3 separate regions of the Homo sapiens genome follow, and regions 1 and 3 are each linked to region 2. Evidence: promoter capture Hi-C in 16 types of primary human blood cells and fetal thymus (Javierre and others, 2016). All regions are on one chromosome and are shown on one strand. Each heading gives the region's core, a stretch centred on a gene start or on the middle of the fragment in contact. The rest is flanking DNA. Distances are from core to core; before and after follow the strand shown.

What was found. Contacts are between HindIII fragments. The CHiCAGO score rates a contact against its expected background, and 5 or more counts as called.
Region 1: a contact is called between a fragment that was not itself captured here and the fragment with the promoter of IFT52 in region 2, in 3 of 17 cell types (neutrophils, endothelial precursors and M2 macrophages). The highest score is 8.5, in neutrophils.
Region 3: a contact is called between a fragment that was not itself captured here and the fragment with the promoter of IFT52 in region 2, in 1 of 17 cell types (neutrophils). The highest score is 5.1, in neutrophils.

Annotation. Positions count from the first base shown.
Region 1 is chr20:44,083,358-44,087,636 of GRCh38, forward strand. No RefSeq gene overlaps it. Among named protein-coding and RNA genes, the nearest start is that of JPH2, 100 kb to the right of the region's middle. The HindIII fragment of the contact is 3,148 bases long and covers 578-3,725 here.
Region 2 is chr20:43,588,937-43,592,978 of GRCh38, forward strand. It overlaps IFT52 (intraflagellar transport 52), which reads left to right and starts at 2,001. Exons shown (of 14, transcript NM_016004.5): 1 at 2,001-2,118. RefSeq lists an enhancer at 2,123-2,192. The HindIII fragment of the contact is 15,646 bases long and covers 1-4,042 here.
Region 3 is chr20:44,061,878-44,066,065 of GRCh38, forward strand. TOX2 (TOX high mobility group box family member 2) reads left to right here. Exons shown (of 9, transcript NM_001098797.2): 6 at 2,900-2,980; 7 at 3,835-4,188. Among named protein-coding and RNA genes, the nearest start is that of JPH2, 120 kb to the right of the region's middle. The HindIII fragment of the contact is 7,560 bases long and covers 1-4,188 here.

The DNA.
Region 1 (4,279 bases), core at 902-3,401, 490 kb after region 2:
CTCATCTGGTGAGCCAGAACTACCTACCAACTGACTTCCTTTCCAGACAAATACCATGTGACTCATGAGCTGGGCTTCCAGGGACTAGAATTGTTCCTGGGGACAGGCTGGGTGCTGACCAGAAGCAAAGGATGACATTTGAGAAGTTACCTGGCTGGCTGCCCGCCTTCTGGGGCCTGTGCTGCGCACTGCAGACCCACGGTCTCCCTTCTGCCCCAGCTCCTCTTGCAGGCTTCTGAGGCAAAAGAACTTCTGCCAGGCCAGGCATCCCAACTCCCTCTAAAGAAACCCTCAGCAAGATGCTCATTCGGTCCCTCACATCAGTGCCAGGTGAAGAGAACGTGACCGGGGCTATCCTGAGGCTGCGGGTGGCCAGGGACGTAGGAGGGAGAAGGCAGGAGCTCTCTAGGCCAGACTAGAGTTCCATGCTCAGGCGTGAGGCTGTACAGCCCTATGGTACACCTCAGATCTGGGAGAGGGAATTATCTCACCTGTGAGAGTGTGGACAATACTGTCAATAGCAGCTCAGCCCTGGCCTCATGTCAGTTATCAATTGCTGTGTAATGAAGGATCCCCAAGCTTACGGGTCAAAATGATTATTCATTCTATCTCACAAACCTGTGGGTTGACTAGATGGCTCTCCTGCTCCACGTGGTTGGCTAGGGCGACAGGACACTGGAGCTGGAGCATCAAAGACGGCTTCTCTCCATATCCAGAGCTCAACTGAGATGACTGAAACATCTGGGGTTGACTGGGCGTCTCTCTTCTTTCTCCATCCATGTGGCCTGTCCATGGAGCTAGCTTGGGCTCCCTCATCACATGGTGGTCTTAGGGGCATCAGGCTTTTTTTTTTTTTTTTTTTTGAGATAGGGTCTCACCTTGTCACCCAGGCTAGCATGCAGTGGCATGATCACGACTCACTGCAGCCTCGACCTCCCTGGGTTCAGGTGATCCTCCCACCTCAACCTCCTGAGTAGCTGGGACTACAGGCACACGCCACCATGTCTGGCTAATTTTTCTATTTTTTTTTTTTTTTGTAAAGGATGGGTCTCACTATGTTGTCCAGGCTGGTCTTGAACTCCTGGGTTCAAGTGATTCACCCACCTCAGCCTCACAAAGTGCTGGGATTACACCATGACCAGCTGAATTGGACTTCTTAACATGGTGTGGCAAGCTGAACAGTCTACCCCCAAAATTCATATCTGCCCAGAACCTCAAAATACGACCTAATGTATGGTTGTATATGACCTCATCTTAACTAGTTATATCTGCAGAGATGAGAACAAAGTCTTCACAGATGTTAACTAGTTAAGATGAGGTCATACTGGATTAGGTTAAGCCCTAAATCCAACATCAGATGTCCTTCTAAGGAGGTTGGAAGACAAACAGATACACACAGGGACGAAGGCCATGTGAAGATAGAGGAGGAGACTAGAATTATGCCAACACCAGCCATGAAATGCCAAGGACTGCCAGGAGTCAAGAGACAGGCATGGAATAGATTCTCCCCTCAGAGCCTCCAGAAGGACCCAGCCCTGCCAACACCTTGATTTTGGCCTTCTAGCCTCCAGAACTGAGACAGAATACATTTCTGTTGCCTTAAGCTGCCCAGTTTGTGGTACCTTGTTATGGCAGTGCTGGGAAACTCACTTGCATGGTGGCTGGGGCCTGAAGATGCAGCAGAAGCTAACGGCGTCTTAAAGGCTGATCCCAGAACTGACGGAGCATCACCCCGCCATGCTTCATCCGGCAAGGCAGGGCCTCTCAGCGTAGGCCCCATTGACACTGGAATGGTCTCACTCTGTTTGCGGAGGGCAGAGGAATTGGAGGAGGTTGCTCTGTGTTCCAGGATGTTTAGTGGAATCTCTGGCTTCCACTCATTGTCAGTAGCACCCCCACCAGGCCCAACAACTAAAAGTGTCCCCAGAGATTGCCCAATGTCCCCTGGAGGACAAAGCCATCCTGGATTGAGAACCACTGGGTTAAAGTAAGTAACAGGATCAGCACAGCTCCCAGGGCAGGGGCTGTATAAGCGTGGGAACGGCAGCAGGCTCCCTGAGGGCCACCAATGGGACAGTCTCCCGCTTCAGGATCACTTGGAACTTGCCTTGAGATTTGCAGGACACAACCCACAATCCCCAGATCTTTTTTTTTTTTCTTAGAGACAGAGGTTCACTCTGTTGCTCAGGCTGGAGTGCAGTGGTGCAATCATGGCTCACTGCAGGCTTGAACTCCCAGGCTCAAGGGAGGCCTCAGCCTCCTGAGTAGCTGGGACTACAGGCACATGCCAATGCATGCCCGGCTAATTTTTATTTTTATTTTTGTAGAGATGGGGGTCTTGCAATGTTGCCCAGACTTGTCTCAAACTCCAGGGATCAAGTGATCCTCCTGCCACTCAGAGTGCTGGGATGACAGGTATGAGCCACGTGCCTGGCCCCCCAGAAACCTTGAATCCCTTGTGTTCTACCTTATGAAGTGAGTCCCAGGTGGGGGTCAGAAGCTGGCATCCAGGTCCAGGACCCCATGGAGCGTTACCTGTGACTTTGGATGCTTCTGCACACTTGTTGCCAACTTGAGATGCTGAATTCAAACCACCACAGAGCTGCTCCCCGTACCAGGTGAGAAGTGTGGGAAAATGGTTTGAAGCCACGTGGTTTGCCCTGGGCAGTCTAACGGGCAAGACATGAATGCACATGTGTCTAGGTTGGGCACTGCAAAAAAAGACGCCACATCTAAGGGCAACAGGGCAAACATACTAACTTGCATGAGTGGCAGAGGTAAAGATTCATGGGCTCCCGCCTGAGTCCTGGAGCAGCACAGGAGAGCCCCTGCCCACCTAAACCAGTGCTGGCAGCCCCAGCCATGCCACAGGCTTGGGAGAACACGTTCACCCTGTGCTGCACCCTCCGCTGCCCAACCCCAAACCTACATTGTGGCCTCGGTGTGGCAGGCTGCTGGCGGGAGCACACGCGGCATCTGGGGTAGCTGTGTGTGAAGCACAGAGCGTGGCACCTGTGTGTGCAGCGGAGTTCGCCTGGGAGGAAGCCACATAGCATTTGCCTGATTTCTTGTATGTTGCATACACGCTGGATGCTGATTTAGAAGGGCTGTTTTTGGTTGGTTTGTTTTTAAAGGATACATTTTCACATCTCCATCTCTGTAGCCATGACCCAAAACAAAATGGAACGTTTCCATCACCCCAATAGTTCCCACGTGCCCTTGTTCCTCAGTGATTTCACCCACCTCCCTCCACACCACCTCCCCAGGTAACCACCACCCTAACTGTTATTGCCATAAACTGAGTTTGCCTCCTGTTCTATCGTTTTATATAAATGGACTCATATATGGTTATCTTTTCTGTCTGGCTTTTCTTCAGCACCATTTTACGAGATTCATTCCTGCAGCTGTGTATAGCCATCCCTTGACTTTTTTTTTTTGCAACCAAGTCTTGCTCTGTTGCCCAGGCTGGAGTGCAGTGGTGCGATCCTGGCTCACTGCAACCTCCACCTTCCCAGTGCAAGCCATTCTCCTGCCTCAGCCTCCCGAGTAGCTGGGATTACAGGCTTACACCATCATGCCTGGCAAGTTTTTTTGTATTTTTTAGTAGAGATGGGGTTTCACCATGTTGCCCAGGCTGATCTCTAACTCCTAGGCTCAAGCAATCCACCCGCCTCAGCCTCCCAAATCCCTTGTACTTTTTATTGGTGTGCAATATGATAAAAAGAAGCTTGGTTTATGAAACTGCAGTTCCTAACTGGATGCTACTGTTTAAGGCCCAGTGCCAGAGCCCCTACCCCCTCCTTCTCTCCTTCCCCGAACTCCGTCTTTACACTTTGGCCATGACCACTGTCACCCAATTCACCTAGAGTGAGCGTCCCATTCCGCCTCAGTCAGCCCCCAGGGCCACCTGTGATTGTTCAGGCTGTGCAATGCCATCCTGACTCCAACAATCCCTGGGGGAGAGGTGACGGATATCCTAACTACCCTGCTTCGATTATGATACATGGTATGCATGTACCAAAATATCACATGTACCCCATAAATATTGTATATCAAAGATGGAGAATTACTGTAAAAAACAATGACCGGAGGAAGAGAAGCCTTTTTCCAGTTTACACCCTGGCCGTGTCTGGCTGGCAGCAGATTCTCCACTTCCCACAGCCAGAGCCTTTTAAAAACTGGTTTGGCCCCAATGCCATTGCTGCAGCTGGAACGGGTACAGCTGGCTCATCTAGGATAGAAAGTGCATGGCCAGCTTTGTGTGAAAGGAGAGGAAACT
Region 2 (4,042 bases), core at 751-3,250:
CCGGCTAATTTTTTGTATTTTTATTTTTATTTTATTTTTTATAGAGACGGGGTTTCACCATGTTGGTCAGGCTGGTCTCGAGCTCTTGACCTCAAGTGATCCACCTGCCTTGGCCTCCCAAAGTGCTGGGATTACAGGCGTGGGCCACTGCACCCGGCCAAAACTCTTACTCTTTCTGCAATCTCTAACAGTGGGAGAAATGCTCTGGGCAGGTGCTGTAGCAAACACTGACTGCATATCAGGCAGAAAGATCCCAAGATTTGTCCCAGCCTTCAAATGGGACGGCCTACTCTCTCTTCAGTGAGAATACTTCATTTCCATTATTACCCTAACTGCAAACTGTATTCACCCAATTCTGCACCAAAATACAGCATCCCCAAGAAGAGAACTTTTTTTTTTTAAGAGACAGAGTCTCACTCTGTTGCCCAGGCTGGGGTGCAGTGGAGCGATCATGGCTCACTGCAGCCCGAACTCCTGGGTTCCAGCGATCTTCCCACCTCAGCCTCCCAAGTAGCTAAGACTACAGGTGTGTGCCACCATGCCTGGCTAATTTTCTTTTTTTATTTATTATTACTATTATTATTGGAGAGAAAAGGTGTTACTGTTACCCAGGTCCCAGACTCCTGGCCTCAAGCAGTCCTCCCACCTTGGCCTCCCAAAATGCTGGGATTACAGGCAGAAGCCACTTCATCTGACCAAAGAGAATTCTCAAATCACCCTGTTCTCCACTTTCTTTTTGAGACAAGGTCTCACTGTGTTGCCTAGGCTAGAGTGCGGCGGCACCATGACGGCTCACTGCAGCCTCAACCTCCTAGGATCAATCAATCAATCCTCCCACCTCAGTCTCCCAAGCAGCTGGGACTACAGGCGCGCGCCACCACGCCCAGGTAATTTTTCCTATTTTTAGTAGATACCGGGTTTCGCCATGTTGCCTAGGCTGGCCTCAAACTCCTGGGCTAAAGAGATCCACCTGCCTCGGCCTCCCAAAGTGCTGGGATTACAGGAGAGAGCCGCTGCGCCCGGCCCGTCTCCACTTTTAAAATTTCCAGTGACAGAAATTGTGGAAAGCAACACGAGTTGTATGTGTTTTAATATCCTAGATTCGAAGACAAACATAAATGTAAATAAAAACTGTCAGAGCTCTCTGCAATCTTCAGTTTGGGTCTTCCAGGCTGCTGCAGCGTTGTTCACAAATCCACACACCTCTAAAGGCAGGCACAGAGCGCTTTCCTGGGTAGTCGGGTGGCCTGTTGGTAGTTGCAGGCTTCTGGTTTCCCATCTTAATGGCGATGGCAGGGCAACCTGTATTGGTGGTGCTTTTGCACAAGCAGTTCTTTCTGCCGGGAACGCCCTTCCCCAGCCTTTGCCTTAATGAATACCACTCTCTCTTCAAATCTCTGCTCAACAGGGGCGCCTTTTTGACCAGCTTAGTCGTTAGACTCCCTAATACAGTTCATAGTTTTCACATTTTTGTAGAATCTATTCAAGTTCTAACTCCCCGCCATGCTCGCCGGCGCTCAAGCCTAGTACCATGGCAAGCAAAGATGCGGAGTTAATAAAACAGAATTATACGGTTTATCATTCTCAACACTAAACCTGCGCACCCTTTTCCGTTAAGTAGTTCCTAATAGTCCAGCACAGCCTTCCGCCCGGCCCCGCCCTCGCCTGGCTCCACTCTGCTCCTGCGCTTTGGGAATCGAAGCTGGGGCGTTCTCCAACCCCCCCGCGCTGGAAGCCTTCACTATTCTCCTCCCTGTGGGTGGAGCGAAGTTTGGGCACTTGGGTCCTACCGTTGTTATTAGTCTTTACTCGTAATTGATACTAAAGAACAAAATTAAATGGGTTTATTTTTGGTGAAAAGTTAATTCTCCTTATGTTTGGATTTGCCCCTCATGCACCAAATGGTACAGCCCCACATCAGTCAGGCTGCCTACCCCTGACGCCTGCGACGGAGAGGCGCCTTCCGTGCTGTCGTCATCACGTCGGCCGGAGCTAGCGCTGCGTCCTGGGCCACGCCTCCCGGCGCACCGACGCGCCTCTCCGGTTACTAAGCGGCCTTGGATACCTGGCCGCGGGATGCTGGGCGGCGTCAGGTGAGCGGTGGTCGCTGGGCCTCAGGTAAAGGGCGCCAACAGTGGTGGGCCGGCTGGGGCGTTGGTGCGGCCTGGGAGCTGGCGAGGGACTCGCCGCACTCTTCGAGGCCGCTGGGCCGGTCATAGAACATCCAGGGTCCCCCGGGGTGAAGTAAACTGTGGGCGCGGACGTAGCCCGGGTTCCTGGCGCCCCGGCTGGGCGCCCATCTCCACGGCCTCGGGTGGTGCAGGTGTTTAGTCGTTCCGCTGACTATGAAAGAGCATGGGACGAGGAATCGTACAGTCTTAATCTCTCTTCTGTCGTGGCTGCGACCCCTCGGTATTCATGTGGGAAAATACTGATTTGACTGGTAATGTTATTGAAGAGAAAGCGAGAGAATGGTTTGGCAGCGTTACCCAAATATTTGTTATTTTTATAGTTTTAAAGGCCTTATACTATTATTAAGGAAATGCATTTCTGGCTAAGTCTGACAGTACAGGAACGCAGACCTGCTACTCTCACCAGGGGCTGAACTAACAGAACAAAAAAAGATAGATGTATCACGGTGGTGGGACCATGGAGGGGGCAGTTTTTCAACTGGACAAAATGATGTTAAAGTGCTTAAAGAAGGATAAATATGTGAAAGTAGCCAGGAAAATTCTAAAATTAATGCTAATAAGGGAGATTAGCTCTCCAGAACCACCAGATATTATAACATAAAGGTATAGCAATTAAACTAGCATAGAAGATGGGTGCAGCAGTGTGGGCCCGTAGTCCTGGCTACTTGGTAGGCTGAGGCGGCAGGATCCCTTGAGCCCAGGAGTCAGAGACCAGCATGGGTATCAAAAGGAAACCCTGTCTCTGAAAATAAATAAATTAATTTAAAAAGTTTGGGACTCAGCAGGAGCTTACAGGTAGATAAAATATATTAGAACTCAGAATAAGAGCGATTTATATATAGGGATTTATTATATAGGCGAGGTGGTACTGTATTTCAAATCAGCATTGAAGAGATGAATTGGGGTCAGGCAGCTTTTTTAGCAATTTAGAAAATAATTAAACCAGTCGAGCGAGGTGGCTCACACCTGTAATCCCAGCACTTTGGGAGGCCAAAGCGGGTGGATCACTTGAGGTCAGGAGTTCCAGACCAGCCTGGCCAACCTGGTGAAACACCGTCTCTACTATGGCGCGCGCCTGTAATCCCAGCTACTGGGGAGGCTGAGGCAGGAGAATTGCTTGAACTTGGGAGGCGGAGGTTGCAGCGAGCCGAGATTGCACCACTGCACTCCAGCCTGGGTGACAGAGCAAGACTATGCTTTGAAAAAGAAGGAAAAAAAAAAGGAATGAAGCCCATTTTGAGCACCACAATAATTTCCAAATGGACTAAAATTTAAATGTTAAAAAATTACATCACGAATTAGCCGGGTGTGTTTGGGCGCCTGTAGTCCCAGCCGCTTGGGAGGCTGAGGCACGAGAATCTCTTGAATCTGGGAGGCAGAGGTTGTGGTGAGCCGAGATCGTGCCACTGCACTCCAGCTTAGGCCACAGAGCAGACTCTCTCAAAAAAAAAAAAAAATTACATCATGAAGTACTGAAGTAAAGCATTGTTGAATTTATTTATAATCTTAGAATGACAAAAAACTCTTCTAAGTGTTTCATGTCATCCAGAAGCCAGGAAGGAAAAGATTCATACTTTTAACTCTATAAAATTTAAAATCTATATGGCCTGCAAAATTCAACCAAACCAAAAAAACTACCAGAAGCCAAATAAACTTATGAAAATGTTTGTTTAATGATCAATTAGAAAATTATGAAACCCGACTGGGTGCAGTGGCTCATGCCAGTAAACCAGCACTTTGGGAGGTTGAGGTAGGAGGATCACTTGAGGTCAGGAGTTCAAGGGCAACATAGCGAGACCTTGCTTCTACAAAAAATTTAAAAATTAGCTGGACACTGGTGCGCGCCTGTA
Region 3 (4,188 bases), core at 323-2,822, 470 kb after region 2:
ACATGATCATCTCAATAGACACAGAAAAAGCATTTGACAAAATTGAGCATCCCTTTGATTAAAACCCTCAGCAAAATCGGCATAGAAGGGACATACCTTAAGGTAATAAAAGCCATCTATGATAAATCCAGAGCCAACATTACACTGAATGGGGAAAAGTTGAAAGCATTCCCCCTGAGAACTAGAACAAGACAAGGATGCCCATTTATTCGATGCAGTACTGGAAGTCCTGGCCAGAGCAATCAGACAAGAGAAAGAAATAAAGGGCACCAAATCAGTAAAGAGGAAGTCAAACTGTCACTGTTTGCTGATGGGATTATCATATACCTAGAAAACCCTAAAGACTCATCCAAAAAGCTCCTAGAACTGGTAAATGAATTCAGCAAAGTTTCAAGATACAAAATTAATGTACACAAATCAATAGATCTGCTATACACCAACAGTGACCAAGCTGAGAATCACATCAAGAACTCAACCCCCTTTAACTGCAAAATAAATAAATAAATAAATAAATAAATAAATAAATAAATGAATAAATAAAATACTTAGGAATATACCTAACCAAGGAGGTGGAAGACCTCTACAAGGAAAACTACAAAACACTGCTGAAAGAAATCGTAGATGAAACAAATGGAAACACATCCCATGCTCATGGATGGGTAGAATCAATAGTGTGAAAATGACCATACTGCCAAAAGCAATCTATAAATTAAATGCAATTCCCATCAAAACACCACCAACATTCTTCACAGAACTAGAAAAAACAATCCTAAAATTCATGTGGAATCAAAAAAGAGCCCTCATAGCCAAAGCATGACTAAGCAAAAAGAACAAATCTGGAGGCATCACATTACCCGACTTCAAACTATATGGCCATAGTCACCAAAACAGCATGGTACTGGTATAAAAATAGGCATATAGACCATGGAAAAGATTAGAGAACCCAGATATAAAGCCAAATCCTTACAACCAACTGATCTTTAACAAAGCAAACAATAACATGAAGTGGGGAAAGGACACCTTATTCAACAAATGGTGCTTGGATAATTGGCAAGCCACATGTAGAAGAGTGAAACTGGATCCTCATCTCTCACCTTATACAAAAATCAACTCAAAATGGATGGAAGACTTAAATCTAAGACCTGAAACCCTAAAAATTCTAGAAGATAACACTGGAAAAACCCTTCCACAGACATTGGCTTAGGCAAAGACTTCATGACCAAGAACCCAAAAGCAAATGCAACAAAAACAAAGGTAAATAGATGGGACTTAATTAAACTAAAAAGCTGCACAGCAAAAGAACCAGCAGGGTAAACAGACAACCCACAGAGTGGGAGAAAATCTTCACAATCTATACTTTCGACAAAGGACTAATATCCAGAATCTACAAAGGAACTCAAATCAGCAAGAAAAAAACAATCCCATCAAAAATTGGGCTAAGGAGATGAATAGAGAATTCTCAAAAGAAAATATACAAATGGCCAACAAACATATTAAAAAATACTTAACATCATTATGATCAGGGAAATGCAAATCAAAACCACCTTACTCCTGCAAGAATGTCCATAATCAAAAAATAGATGTTGGCATGGATGTGGCAAAAAGGGAACACTTTTACACTGTTGGTGGGAATATAAACTAGTACATCCACTGTGAAAAACAGTGTGGAAATTCCCCAAAGAACTAAAAGTAGATCTACTGTTTGACCCAGCAATCCCACTGCTTGGTATCCACCCAGAGGAGAAGAAATTTTACAAAAAAGATACTTGCACATGTTTGTAGCAGCCCAATTTGCAATTGCAAAAATATGGAACCAGCCCAAATGCCCATCAATCAATGAGTAAAGAAAATGTGCTACATATATATACACACATATATATGTACACACACACACATATACATATATATGTACACACACACACACACAAACACCATGAAATACTACTCAGCCATAAAAAGGAAGGAAATAATGGCATTTGCAGCAACCTGGATGGAATTGGAGACAATTATTCTAAGTGAAGTAACTCAGGAATGGAAAACCAAACATTGTATGTTCTCATAAGTGGGAACTAAGCTATGAGGACACAAAGGCATAAGAATGATACAATGGACTTTGGGGACTTGGGGAAAAGGATGGTAGTGAAGGATAAAAGACTATCATCAGGTACAGTGTACACTGCTCAGGTGGTAGGTTCACCAACATCTCAGAAATCACCATTAAAGAACTTATTCATATACAAAAAAAATTTTTAAATAAGAGTTCCAAGAGTAGCAAGAGGGCTCACCAATATGTGATCACTTTGTCAGTCTCTGCATGCATCACATTTGTGCTTGTCTTATTGGCCAACACAAGTCACACAAGGCTAAGCTCCAAGTCATTTGCACCTCCTCGTTTCTACCAAAAGCCATGGAAACAAGGAGGTGCGAACAAACTGGGACCAGTCCTACAATAACATATGAACCTAGGTCTAAAATTTTTAATAAAAAATATTAGCAAACCGAATCCAAACTAACATACTATGAACAAGTAGGTTCATTCTAGGTTGCGAAGGTGGTTCGGCATTAAGAAATCTGCACTGTGCTGGCTCAGAATGGGGGCTTCAAAGGGCATTGTCTTTCTGTGATCAGTTGTGCTGATAGAACCTGGAGGCCCAGAGAGATGAAGCATGTTGGCCAAGGCCACACAGTGACTTGGCTGAGGAACTGGGATATGGCCTGGTCTCCACAATTTCTCTGCAGCGCTCCCAGAAAGGGGCCAGTGGCTGGCTGACTCAGCTTCTGACCCCACCACCCTCGTCCATTCGTGATCCTTGAATCCATGCCTTCCCACCCCAGGACCCTGCACGGCATCTCCTCTGTAACTTTCTCCCCAGTGTTGCTCATGTGTTGACTCTTCCAGGCCTACAAGAGGAAGACAGAAGCAGCAAAGAAGGAATATCTGAAGGCCCTGGCAGCCTACCGGGCTAGCCTCGTCTCCAAGGTAACACCCGGAATCTCCAGGCACAGCCCTGATCAGAGTGGGGCCACTTGAGGAATGGAGCAAGAACTGGGGCCCGTGGGAAGGGCCGGCACCCCAGGTCTTAGAAAGAATGGCTCAGACCTACATGGTCATGTCTGCAGGGCACCTACAGCATGCCAGGCTCATTCTGGGCACTTTACATGCATTTCATTGGCTTCTTCCAACAAGAACCCAGCACCCAGAGGGGTTGAGCAACTTGCCTGAAAAGATCCAGTTTGTTAAAGTGGCCGCACTAGGATTCAAACCCAGTTTTGCCAGTTTTATGTGGCCTTCACTTCTGACCGCTGATGGGGCTTGGGACACGCTACCCCAAAATATGGCACCTCCTCACCACACCGTCGGCCTCCTCTGTCAACACCAGCAACGTAGGAAGCTAAGTGTGGCTGCGGATGCGTGGCCCAAGTGGAGGTGGGTGTTGTTCCTGGTACAGAAGAGATGGCATCCAAACTGGTCTATAACAGGCCAAGTAAAAGGTGGTTCAAAGTCAAGGGAAAAACATCTACAAAGGCACAGAGGTTGGAAGGAGCATGATTAGAGCTGGCTCAGTGGGATGGTGCTTGTCTCACTGGCCAGGCTGAGGAGCATGGATTCCCCCAAGGGCAGGGGAGCCCCCCAAAGATAAAAGCAGTAGGTGACTGGATGGTCAGAGCCAAGGGGACTAAGGACCCTGTGCTATCTCTGGTTAGTCCAAGCTCTCTCCCAAGACAGCCAGCCAGCAGCCGTGTCAGTGGGTTGCAGAGCCTCCTGGCCTCACAGCCCATGTTCTGGCTCATCCCTCTTCTGTTCTCCAGTGACTGATATCTGTCTCCTTCCAGAGCTCCCCAGATCAAGGTGAGACCAAGAGCACTCAGGCAAACCCACCAGCCAAAATGCTCCCACCCAAGCAGCCCATGTATGCCATGCCAGGCCTGGCCTCCTTCCTGACGCCGTCGGACCTGCAGGCCTTCCGCAGTGGGGCCTCCCCTGCCAGCCTCGCCCGGACGCTGGGCTCCAAGTCTCTGCTGCCAGGCCTCAGTGCGTCCCCGCCGCCGCCACCCTCCTTCCCGCTCAGCCCCACACTGCACCAGCAGCTGTCACTGCCCCCTCACGCCCAGGGCGCCCTCCTCAGTCCACCTGTTAGCATGTCCCCAGCCCCCCAGCCCCCTGTCCTGCCCACCCCCATGGCACTC